Linked DNA regions of Homo sapiens: region 1 is linked to region 2. Evidence: promoter capture Hi-C in 16 types of primary human blood cells and fetal thymus (Javierre and others, 2016). All regions are on one chromosome and are shown on one strand. The core of a region is centred on a gene start or on the middle of the fragment in contact, and the rest is flanking DNA. Distances in the headings are between cores, read along the strand shown. Region 1 overlaps PHOSPHO2-KLHL23 (PHOSPHO2-KLHL23 readthrough). Region 2 holds the start of PPIG (peptidylprolyl isomerase G).

Region 1 (6,325 bases), core at 2,493-4,992, 150 kb after region 2:
CACCTGCGCGGAGCGCCGGGCAGAGGGACGCGGGCACCGGGCCCGCGGGCGGCACGCGGCGCCCTCGAGTCCAGCCCCGCTCCTGGCCCCGGGGCGGGGCGGTCTCCGGGCGGGAACGTGGGCCGGGGCCCAGGCGCGGGGCGCGCGGAAACCCCTGCGGCGGGCGCGGGGGAGGGGGCGAGGGCTGCAAGGGCTGCGCCGAGCTGCCTTCCTTTCTCTCCTTCCTTAAGCGAAAGGGCTCGGGATTTCCCTTTTCCGAGACCTCTTCTTGTCCATTTATATTTCCATCATCCCTTTCTTGGCATTTCGATGTGATTTGAAAGGGAGACGAGCTTGGGGAAAAGGTTGAATTGGGGCCGAGCCGAGACAGCTGAGGTCCGGCCTCGAGTGGGGTGACCCTCGGACACTTGCCTTGCCTAGTGTGGGATCTCATCTCCGAACGCCAGGCCAGGGTAGATTGCGGTGAATGGAATAGCAAATCAGTACTCTCAAAAGGACTACTGAAAAATCCAGGAGCCTCATTTCAAGCTCCGAGCTACCCTGAATTTAAATTGACCACCATATAAATGATCAAACAGTCCATCCACATTTTGCATTTATTATTTAGATGCTGAACTTAGTCCAGTTTTGGAGTATATCCGATGATAGTCAAGTTATTTAGCGTTGATTATTTGAGAGAATGTGCAACATTGAAAACACATTTGTTATTTCATATTTATTGCAGCCATGGCTCTAAAAGGACAAGAAGATTATATTTATCTTTTCAAGGATTCAACACATCCAGTGGATTTTCTGGATGCATTCAGAACATTTTACTTGGATGGATTATTTACTGATATTACTCTTCAGTGTCCTTCAGGCATAATTTTCCATTGTCACCGAGCCGTTTTAGCTGCTTGCAGCAATTATTTTAAGGCAATGTTCACAGCTGACATGAAAGAAAAATTTAAAAATAAAATAAAACTCTCTGGCATCCACCATGATATTCTGGAAGGCCTTGTAAATTATGCATACACTTCCCAAATTGAAATAACTAAAAGAAATGTTCAAAGCCTGCTTGAGGCAGCGGATCTGCTACAGTTCCTTTCAGTAAAGAAGGCTTGTGAGCGGTTTTTGGTAAGGCACTTGGATATTGATAATTGTATTGGAATGCACTCCTTTGCAGAATTTCATGTGTGTCCAGAACTAGAGAAGGAATCTCGAAGAATTCTATGTTCAAAGTTTAAGGAAGTGTGGCAACAAGAAGAATTTCTGGAAATCAGCCTTGAAAAGTTTCTCTTTATCTTGTCCAGAAAGAATCTCAGTGTTTGGAAAGAAGAAGCTATCATAGAGCCAGTTATTAAGTGGACTGCTCATGATGTAGAAAATCGAATTGAATGCCTCTATAATCTACTGAGCTATATCAACATTGATATAGATCCAGTGTACTTAAAAACAGCCTTAGGCCTTCAAAGAAGCTGCCTGCTCACCGAAAATAAGATCCGCTCCCTAATATACAATGCCTTGAATCCCATGCATAAAGAGATTTCCCAGAGGTCCACAGCCACAATGTATATAATTGGAGGCTATTACTGGCATCCTTTATCAGAGGTTCACATATGGGATCCTTTGACAAATGTTTGGATTCAGGGAGCAGAAATACCAGATTATACCAGGGAGAGCTATGGTGTTACATGTTTAGGACCCAACATTTATGTAACTGGGGGCTACAGGACGGATAACATAGAAGCTCTTGACACAGTGTGGATCTATAACAGTGAAAGTGATGAATGGACAGAAGGTTTGCCAATGCTCAATGCCAGGTATTACCACTGTGCAGTCACCTTGGGTGGCTGTGTCTATGCTTTAGGTGGTTACAGAAAAGGGGCTCCAGCAGAAGAGGCTGAGTTCTATGATCCTTTAAAAGAGAAATGGATTCCTATTGCAAACATGATTAAAGGTAAGTGGAGATTATGTTTATTTTGTATTTTTTAGATGTCTGGAGCTAGGCCAGCAGTCTCACTTCTCTTGAATTTATCACTTTGGGATGCTATCTAGGAACTATAGTTAATTATACAAATAATGCTACACAGAATGTTCCAGATAAAAACAGTATAGCATAGTTCCCAACTTGTCTGAGAGTTATGAGAATTTATATTCAAGTCAAGGGCTAGATGAAGAGACAAATCTGGACAGTTTTTCATTTTTTCATGTTCTTAAAATTGAACCCTTTAAAATTCTGCTATTCAACTTTTTCCTCTCAAAATACGCTGATCAGCTCTCAAGAGGTCCTTCATTAAAACCTTGGAAGGTTTGGTCCCTACAGGATGTAACAAAGTACATTCTTCCAGGAACTAGAGACAACGTCTGCTTTTGCAATTCAGTCCTCTCTGAGAGGGGCAGACACCATACTCTCCCTCATGTGGCCCACAGAACCCGGCACACCCCTGGGTCTCGGTATCTGTCTGATAAACACTATTTTCTGCTGTGTTTGGCGATTTGTTTGCCTTGCTCTCCTTCTCTCCCACTGGAAAAAAAGTTAAACGGGAATCTTATTTCATTGTATTTATTCATTGGTGCTGAGGAGTTGTACAAAAACAACTGGTAGGTCGTTACCAAATTTGTATCATTTTGTCCCAAATGTTTCTTCCCAGGCTTTTCTGTTTCTTTTTTAATGCTAGTGAGAGTGTGGGAATTTGACCTGGTCTGGAAATCTGACCTGGTATGATCCTTGGATGACAGGCAGGAAGCTGAGAGGCAGAACAGTCTTGGGATCAGGCACGCTGCCTCTGAAGCTAAACTGCCTGCATCCAGATCCCTGCTTTCCTCTTACTTGCTGATGAGCTCTGGCAAATTGTTTAATCACCCTGTGCCCCCGTTTTGTCATCTGTATAATGGGGATGACAATATTACCTAGTCTCGGATCATTGAGAGGATTAAATTAATCTATGCTTGTGAAGTGCCTAGAACAGTGTCTGACACAGAGTAAGCATGCTATAAATGTTACGCATGATTGTCCTGAATGTCGGTATTGAAGGACATGTCAGCTCTTATAGAGCAGAAATTGATTTCATGTGAAGTTGTGACCACTGTCACACCAGGGTGGGAGAAGGTAGCAGAAAGCCCGGTGCTGTTGCTCCCCTGGTTTTTGTCTTTGCCTGAGTCTCACCACTACTTGCCGATTCCAGGAGGGCTCTGAATGTCCTGACCCCTCTTCTGCAAAAGAAATAAGAAAAGTCCATATATTTAAGGAGCTATTGTAAACTAGCATACATTTCTGATTCTGTTTTTTAAGGATGATATAACAGTTTCAATGGTTTTGTGGTTCAGAGTATATTTCTTTTTCTTTTTCTTTTTTTTTTTTTGAGATGGAGTCTCACTCTGTCTCCCAGGCTGGAATGCAGTGGCGTGATCTTGGCTCACTGCAACCTCTGCCTCCCGGGTTCAAGCAGTTCTCCTGCCTCAGCCTCCTGAGTAGCTGGGATTACAGGCATGTGCCACCACACCTAGGTAATTTTTGTATTTTTAGTAGAGACGGGGTTTCACCATGTTGGCCAGGCTGGTCTTGAACTCCTGACCTCAAGTGATCCCCCCACCTTGGCCTCCCAAAGTGCTGGGATTACAAGGGTGGGTTCAGAGTATATTTCTTTGAGAATGAAAGCTTATTACTTTACTGAAATTTTAAAAATTTATATTTAGAACAGTGCTTGTTGAAAAAAGATATGCTGCGATGGTGTATCTACTGTGAAACAAAAGCCATATGCATGCTTGCGTTAACCTTGAGTGGAGTAGGAGACCCTCATACCTCAAAGTCCTCCCTCACCTGCTAACTGGGTCTGAAATTCCAGTTTTATACTTTGAACTCAAAGCTTTGATTCTTGTTTATATCTAGTCATCCCAGGGAGAGGTAACACTGCCAGTTATGTGCAGTTTTGACTACTGCTTGTTTTGGTGGGTGGACTCATACAGAACTTTTTTTAAACAATTTTTAAAATTTTATTTTTAATTTTTAAAACTAGAAATGGCGGGGGGTCTCACTATGTTGCCCAGGCTGGTCTTGAACCCCTGGCCTCAAATGATTCTCCTACCTTGGCCTCCCAAAGTGCGGGGATTATAGGTGTGAACCACCACACCCAGCCATACTGAACTTTTAGATTCCCATTTTTTGGTAGAAAGGATAACATTTTTTTCAATTCGTTTTATTTTGTAGCCTTGAAGTGAAATAGCAGCTTTCTCTGGTAATAAACTTAATTTGGGTACAGTCAAATTTAAAATTTATTACCTTTTTTTGGTCCTGGACCCAAATTAAGTTCACTAATGTACAGAGAATAAATAAATACTTGGCTGTTTAGGAACTCCTGAATCTTTATTTTTTTCCATCATAACTGCTCTACTTATAAATCCACTTTTATTTTGGAATAGAAAGGAACAAGAAGATTGAACTGTATCATGCAAAATGGTGCTAGGTAAAAGTTAGTGGAAAGACAAAACCAACGTTTTCAACTAAAATGATCCTCATCATCTTTCTTCCTTTCTTCATCTTCCCTCCAAACCTATTTCCTCCCCCTCCTCCCCCTCCCCTTCCTCACCCTCCCCTCTCTTCCCCCTTCCCCTCCCTCTCCTCCCTATCTCCCTTTCATGTTTCGCCTATCTTCCTCTTTCTTCCTCCTCCTTCCCTCTCCTCCCCCTCCTCCCTCTCCTCCCCCTTCCCCTCCCCCTCCCCCTCCTCCCCTTCCCCTCCCCCATCTCCTCTCCCTCCTTCTGCCTTCTTCTTCCTCCTCCTCCTTCCCCTCCCTCTCCTTCCCCTCCTCGACTTCCCCCACCCCTCCTTGTTTTGGCATCAGTGATTCCAGTTTTTCCAGCTCAGGACCTCAAAATCGGTTTGGTTTGCCTCTGCGTCAGTCAGTCATCAAGACCTGTGTGTTTTACCTGTCTCTTTCCTCTATGCTCTTCCCTCCATACCCAAAGCCCCTTCAAAATCAGGCCCTCGAGACCGCCCACCCTGGCCAGTAACTAGATCTTTCTGGTACCTGTTCTTCCTTTGTTAGTTGCTCTATTCCTCTGTTTAAAAACCTTTAAAATCTGGCTGAATTAAATCCAGATTCTTTGTTGGGCATCAGTAAGTATCCTTTGCTACATGGCTTCAACTTACCATGCCAGCCTTAAAGTCCCATGCAACAACCCTCAATGTGCCACCTGCCCTGGTCAAACTGGGCTACTTAACATTGTCCAGTAAGCCTTTGCACTGGCTTTTCCCTCTGTCTAGAATGGCCTCCTCTCATCTATACTTGCCAACTTCCTACCATCACCCAGGTCAAATTCCACCACCACCTGCTGTGATTTCCCTCGTCAAATGCAGTGTTTTCTTGCCCTGACCATGCCCAGCAGTTCATCTGTCCCTTTTTTCATGGTGTTTCTTCCATTTTATATCTAGTGTTCTAATTACAGCCATGTGCCACTTAACAATGGGGATATGTTCTGAGAAATGTGTGATTAGGCAATTTTGTCATGTGAACGTTATACTTAAACAACAGGCTATACCATACTAATTCTACAGCCTAATACACACCTAGGCTGTGTGGTATAGCCTGTTACTCCTAGGCTTCAGACCTGTACAGCATGTTACTATACTGAATATTCTAAGCAGTATAACACAATGGTAAGTCTTTGTGTATCTAAACATAGAAACAGTACAGTAAAAATACAGCATAAAAGATAAAAATGGTAGACCTATTTGGGGCACTTACCATGAATGGAGCTTGCAGGACTGGAAGTTGTTCTGGTTGAGTCGGTGAGTAAGTGGGGAGGGATTGTGAAGGCCTAGGACATTACTGTACACTACTGTAGACTTTTTACTTTTTTTGAGACAGGGTCTTGCTCTGACACGTACGCTGGACTGCGGTGATGTAAACATAGCTCACTGCAGCCTTGACCTCCTGAGATCAAGCAATCCTCCCACCTCAGCCTCCCGAGTAGCTGGGACTACAGGCACATGCTATCACACGTGGCTACTTTTTTATTTTTTGTAGAGATGTGGTCTCACTTTGTAGTCCAAGCTGGTCTCAAACTCCTCCTGGGCTCAAGTGATCCCCTGCCTCAGCCTCCTAAACTTCTGGAATTACAGGCATTACTGTAGACTTTATATAGCTTATAAAAATACTTTCTTTTTATCCTTATTCTATAAGCTTTTTTTTTTTTTGAGACGGAGTCTCGCTCTGTCACCCAGGCTGGAGTGCAGTGGCACTGTCTTGGCTCACTGCAAGCTCAGTCTCCTGGGTTCACGCCATTCTCCTGCCTCAGCCTCCCGAGTAGCTAGGACTACAGGCGCCCACCACCACGTCCTGCT
Region 2 (6,735 bases), core at 676-3,175:
TAAGTTGTGGGGTACATATGCAGGTTTGTTACAGAGGTAAACTTGTGTAATGGGGGTTTGTTGTACAGAATATTTCATCACCTAGGTATTAAGTCTAGGACCCATTAGTTATTTTTCCTGATCCTCTCCCTCCTCCCACTGTCTACACTCTGATAGGCCCCAGTGTGTATTGTGCCCCTCTATGTCTTCATGTGTTCTCATCATTTAGCTCCCACTTATAAGTGAGAACATGTGGTACTTGGTTTTCTGTTTCTGCATTAGTTTGCTAAGGATAATGGTCTCCAGCTCCATCCATGTTCCTGCGAAGGGCATGAGATCATTCTTTTTCATGGCTGCATAGTATTCCATGGAGTATATGTACCACATTTTCTTTATCAAGTCTACCATTGATGGACATTTAGGTTGACTCCATGTCTTCGCTATTGTGAATAGTGTGGCAATGAACATACATATGTGTATGTCTTTATAACAGAACAACTTATATTCCTTTGGGTATATACCCAGTAATGTGATTGCTGGGTCAAATGGTATTTCTGCCTCTAGGTCTTTGAGGAATCGCCACGCTGTCTTCCACAATAGTTGAATTCATTTAAACTCCCACCAGCACTGTAAAATGTTCCTTTTTCTCCACAACCTCACCAGCACCTGTTATTTTTTGACTTTTTAATAATAGCCATTCTGACTGGTATGAGATAGTATCTCACTGCGGTTTTGATTTGCATTTTTCTGATGATTGGTGGTGTTGAGCTTTTTCATTATGATTGTTGGCTGCAAGTATGTCTTCTTTCGAAAAGCGTTGGCCGGGCGTGGTGGCTCACACCTGTAATCCCGGCACTTTGGGAGGCCAAGGAGGACGGATCACCTGAGGTTGGGAGTTTGAGACCAGCCTGACCTACATGGAGAAACCCTGTCTCTACTAAAAATACAAAAAATTAGCCAGGCCAGTCTGTGGCCCAGGGGTTGGGGACCCCTGTTTTAAGGTATTGCAGAATTGTCCCCTCCACACACAGCGAAGTGTAAATCCGTTTAATCTCTGAACTATCTAAAGATGAATATGCTGCTGCTCTCCTGCAATAAAGGGCAATGACTTAAAAGAGGTGGGGGTGGAGAGGCAGAAATGTCCTCTGTTTTACTGCTGTGTAAAACTGGTCACGCCCCTTAGAAGCACCACCACATGCCTAACTGTTGTTGATAATTAATTTACCTGATGCAAGTGAGTGAAAAATTTAAATGATCATAATTTACGTTGCCTTTAAACGACAGAACAATTTAAGTCCTCTAGTTAGCTAGTTCCTTTAAAACACACCCCACATCCCTACCAGAATCACTGCCCATCCCCCCCCACCCCCCCGCCCAAACAGCAATGGTTATTTATTTCTAACATAATCCGGGGACCCTTGCCCCTTAAAATAATTAAATAATATATGCCATATTTTCTCTAGAAGGCACTAGATTTGGCATCAAAAGACTTGCTTTGGCATTCAAGAACAGTGTGTTTGAGGAGGAGGCGTTTATCTTCCCTGAGCCTCAATTTCTTTATCTGTAAAACAACAAAGAACATCAAAGCTCTTTGTAATTTCTTCCTCTTTCCTCAAATAACACTTTGCTCATTACTGCGTTTTTAGAACTTATATCCTAGCGTTAAGTGGAAGCTTAACTGGAAGCTCCATGAAGGTAGGCCTTCCTTTCTGATAACCTAGCGTAAGATCAATAAATGTTTATTAAATGAGGCACTTTACTTCACAAAGGATATGGCATTTTAACGGTTACAAGCGTTCCCAGTCAACGCATCCACAAAGCATTAGGCCACCTATAAACTAGGAATTTAAAAGGCACCAAAATCCTAGAAGTCCTAGGAGGGCGTGGTGACGCAAGCAGGTGAACGCTGGCCGATGCTGACAACCCACTCCTGACGCGCTTCCGGTGCGACGCTGTCTCTCCATGCCAGGACTGAGTTGTGGGGGAGGGAGGCGGTTAGCGGGCTTTAGCGCCTTTTCTGGCGGCGGTAGATTTGAAGCGCTTCAAAGGACCGGACCCAGAGAAGAGGAAAACTCTACCGGTGCAGGTAAGTGGTATGAGGCTCAAGTTGTTCTGGCGGCGTCATTTCAGCAGTCCCTGCGTACGAAAGCGGGAAGGGCCTGGGAAGAGGGGCGGAGCCGGCGCGGCTGACCGGGTTGGGTTTACCGTCTTTCCCTCGAGGTATCGGGGCTGCTTGGGCCCAGAGGAAGTCCCTGAGGACCGCAGCAGTGCCTTTGCCGCTGTTGCAGAAGGAGAAGGCTTGCAGTCGAGCCCCGGGGCCTGGGGACGGTCCTTCCTCTGCCAGCCCCCGCCCTCCCCACTCAGGCGCACACCTCCCTCACTGACGCATTTTGCCGCACAAGCTGTAACATGGCGGCAGCGACTGCGGCCTGAACTCTAGGGAGCCGGGTTGATTTTTAAAGCTTCAAAATCCTAAGACTCAGCACTGTTGCGGGGTAGGTGGCGGGACTGGTGGGGAAGGGGGAGACAGCCTGACGTCCTGTCAGGCTAGGGTTGGAGAGTGACGGGCGAAGAGCCTGAATCACAGGGATTAAAATTGAAGACTAGCTTTCCTCCTCTTTCGACCTTTTCCTCTCACAGCACAGTGGCTGTCGTGCAGTTAAGTGGCAGAGGCCACTTTGTTAAGCATTTTTCTAAAACTCAAGTCCAGGGTCTTGAGCTCTCGCGAAGTTCCCCCGTGTTTCGGAGGAGCTGTGAGCTGCGCAGGCCTTTTAGGAGGAGATAATTACTCTTTAGGAGGAAGATGATGATTTCGGGGCTCAGTATGCCTGAAGGGGAAGTATGCTAATTTGGTTCTTGGTTAGTCTTTTTTTTTGAGACGGAGTCTCGCTCTGTCGCCTAGGCTGGAATGCAGTGGCGCGATCTTGGCTCACTGCAACCTCCGCCTCCTGGGTTCAAGTGATTCTTCTGCCTCAGCCTCCCAAGTAGCTGGGACTACAGGCACGTGCCACCATGCCCGGCTAATTTTTTGTGTTTTTAGTAGAGACGGGTTTTCACCGTGTTAGCCAGGATGGTCGATCTCCTGACCTCGTGATCCGCCCACCTCGGCCTCCCAAAGTGCTGGGATTACAGGCGAGAGCCACCGCGCACGGCCAGCTCATGTTTAGTCTTAAGGAGCAAAGTCTAGATGTGCTGGCAAGGAGTATGCACAATCGTTTTGGAAATGCTATAAAAGCACCATTTTGTGCATTGATTTTAATTTCTTTCCACGATAGCCCTTTCTGTGTGTAACCAACATTTTGCAGTAGTGAACACAAATACAAAAGTATTTGCTTTTATAGTTTGGTACTAACATAGTTGTCCAAAGAACAATTAGATGTTTTAGAAATTAGGGGGGCCTGATATTAACTTTCAGTAGTTAAAACCAGGAAAAAAGAGTGAGTGTGTGTGTGTGTCGGTCACACACACGTTTTTGTCTTTGTGTATTCCCATTTGGTAACAGGATGGCCGGTAATTGCTACTTTGTAACAATGACGGGTGGGGGGGTGAACATTTTATAAATTTTGAAATCGTGCTATAAAATCCAGAAAAGATACATTTAGAATGGCTGCTTCTCTCCTGTTTTTAATATATCCTGAAAATTTACCCGTTTTAGCACTCCCCTTTTTTTTATGTTAACGAGTTGGGACAGAATTATTTCTGTAACAAATTACATGGTTCTGTGTCTTAAACAAGAGTTCATTGTACATTGTTTGACTATTTCTTTATGATTCAGAATTATTGATGCTCTGAGATCCTATAGGGTCTTGTAGTAGGATTCTGCGCATTTGAATTGTTGGTTTCCTTTTTAAGGCTTTTCTAGGCAGTCAGTTGTCAGGAGTGCTCCTGCTGTCAGGAGTGTATAAGTATGTAAACTTCTTAGGTTAGAAAAATTTGGACTTTCTGGCCCAATTATCTTTCTGAGCTTCAGTTTCTTCACCTACCTGCAAAATGACATTTTGATCTCCACCTTCCATCAACTGTGGGCTTGAAAATTAAATACTCAGCTTTGTTAAAATTGTGTGTGAAGTTGGCTTTCATTAACTCAGTGGTTCCTTTATGGGTGAAGAGTGTTCATTACATTTATTTTTAACCATATAGTCGATTTACTGTGGTGCTTATTATTGTGGTCTTGCAGTATTGGTGACTTCTACATATTTTTGATATTTTGCCTTAAATTAGATTTTCTGTGAGGCAGCATCCTCTTCTTTATACAAAGGGAAAGTGGAAGCCATTCATAATAAAGTACTTCTGTTAGGACACTATCTGGGGTTAATTCTTTAAATAGTAGTTGCCCCTTTAGTTAGGCTTTTTTCCTTCCTATTAGTTTATAAATAGAGTATTTAAACATAATTATAACATGTTGTCTATTTTTAGAATCCCAGTGTACTAAGATGTCATGAAGGAATACATAGATAATTAATGCAAGTGACCTGAAGAGTTTGTTGCAAGTCTTTCTGTTGCATTGTGGCATTGCATGCTTTTTGCTTTTATTTATTTATTTTTTTCAGACAGAGTCTTGCTCTGTCGCCCAGGCTGGAGTGCAGTGGCATGATCTCAGCTCACTGCAACCTCCACCTCCTGAGCTCAAGGGATTCTCACGCCTCAGCCTCCCTAGTAGCTGGGAGTACAGGTGCCTGCCACCACACCGGGTAATTTTTATATTTTTAGTAGAGAAGGGGTTTCACCATGTTGGCTACGCTGGTCTCAAATTCCTGACCTCAAGTAATCCATCCGCCTCCGCCTCCCAAAGTGCTGGGATTACAGGCGTGAGCCACTGTGCACTGTGCCCAGCCTGACTTTTGCTTTTTTTTTTGAGACAGAGTCTCGCTGTCTTGCCCATACTGGAGTGCAGTGGCGTGATCTCGGCTCACTGCAACCTCCGCCTCCCGGGTTCAAGCAATTCTTCTGCCTCAGCTTCCTGAGTAGCTGGGATTACAGGCATGTGCCACCACACCCAGCTGATTTTTGTATTTTTTATAGAGATGGGGTTTCACCATGTTGGTTAGGCTGGTCCCAAACTCCTGACCTCATGATCTGCCCACCTTGGCCTCCCAAAGTGCTAGTATTACAGGCGTGAGCCACCGTGCCCAGACCTTTTTGCTTTTAATGTTAGGACTAAACTTCAATTTTCATGTTGCTTAAGTGTCGGTGATTTTCCCTGGTTTAATGCATAAATGGTCACCATAAGAACTCGGTATTTTTATTTCTGTAGGGAAAAACTTGCATCCTGAAATTTACTACAGACAGTATTCAGAGAAAACTGCTGTTATTGGGAGTTTGTACTTCTAGCAGCAGACAAGAAAACTTTTGAACTTTGTTTTAGAATAATGGCTTAAAATGATCACACGCTTACTGAAATTTGATTATATAACACTTATAAACACCAATCTTTTATATTAAAATGATTATTTTAAAAACATGAATGATGGCCGGGGGTGGTGGCTCACACCTGAAATCCCAGCACTTTGGGAGGCCGAGGCGGGTGGATCACCTGAGGTCGGGAGTTCCAGACCAGCCTGACCAACATGGAGAAACCCCGTCTCTCCGTTTCTACTTAGAATACAAAAATTAGCTGGGCATTGGTGGTGCATGCCTGTAATCCCAACTACTCGGGAGGCTGAGGCAGGAGAATCGCTTGAACCCGGGAGGTGGAGGTTGCAGTGATCCGAGATCACGCCATTGCACTCCAGCCTGGGAAACGAGCGAAACTCCATCTCAAAAAATTAAAAATAAAAATAAAAATATGAATGATTCCTTAACTCGTTTTAAAAATGAACGAAGCATATTCGTGTGTGTGTGTGTATATACTAAGCTCTTGTTAATTATTGTATACATTTTAGCTTATAATTAAACCATTGAATCATGGTTATATGGTGAAAAGTAATATTAAGCCATTATGTGGAATATTTGTGAGTAAACTAGTTTTTACCGTGAAATTGTAGAAAGTACTAAATCAGAACTTTTGCTTTTTTCCATTTGTGAGCTTGAGCCACTCATTTCATCTCTTTTGTCCTCTTGTTCTTGATCTATAAAATCAGAAGATTGGATCAGGTTATCTCTTAGAGTTCCTTGAAACTCCAAATGTTCTTATTTTTTTACGTAGGAATTACTGGATTGAATAATGGGGTTAGAACTGTGTGTATATATGTATATATCTTTGAAAACTGGGGGTAAATCTTTTTTCTTTTTTGTTTTTGGTTTTGGTAAATTTATTATTATAAGAACTTAGATCAGGCGGAGTGCAGTGGCTCACGCCTGTAATCCCGACACTTTGGGAGGCCGAGGTGGGTGGATCACCTGAGGTCGGAGCTTGAGACCAGCCTGAGGAACATGAAGAAACCCTGTCTCTACTAAAAATACAAATTTAGCCGGGCATGGTGGCGCATGCCTGTAATCCCAGCTACTCGGAGGCTGAGGCAGGAGAATCGCTTGAACCCAGGAGGCGGAGGTTGCAGTGAGCCAAGATCGCACCATTGCACTTCAGCCTGGGCACAAGAACGAAACTCCCTCTCAAAAAAAAAAAAAAAAAAAAAAAAACCTTAGATAATTGCAAGTACAACATTAAGAGTATTAGCCGTGAGTTCCCAGTTAGTATTTGCTTTTGTAGTTTGGTAGTGACAAAGATGTATTATATTTTTATGTCTCTCAGATCGTATATATAGTAAGTGCGTAATATCCTTATTTAACACTGAATTAGGCAACATTATGGGTTAT

The links. The method cuts DNA at HindIII sites, captures the fragments that hold promoters and counts their contacts. A CHiCAGO score of 5 or more calls a contact.
Region 1: a fragment that was not itself captured here is called in contact with the fragment with the promoter of PPIG in region 2 in 2 of 17 cell types (megakaryocytes and total B cells); the score reaches 6.4 in megakaryocytes.

The regions. Positions count from the first base shown.
Region 1 is chr2:169,734,289-169,740,613 of GRCh38, forward strand. The region is part of intron 3 of PHOSPHO2-KLHL23 (PHOSPHO2-KLHL23 readthrough); the gene reads left to right. It overlaps KLHL23 (kelch like family member 23), which reads left to right. Exons shown (of 4, transcript NM_144711.6): 2 at 725-1,939. The coding sequence starts at 727. Among named protein-coding and RNA genes, the nearest start is that of KLHL23, 3.6 kb to the left of the region's middle. RefSeq lists a silencer at 55-234. The HindIII fragment of the contact is 208 bases long and covers 3,639-3,846 here.
Region 2 is chr2:169,582,426-169,589,160 of GRCh38, forward strand. It overlaps PPIG (peptidylprolyl isomerase G), which reads left to right and starts at 1,926. Exons shown (of 14, transcript NM_004792.3): 1 at 1,926-2,065. RefSeq lists an enhancer at 1,842-1,891. The HindIII fragment of the contact is 789 bases long and covers 1,651-2,439 here.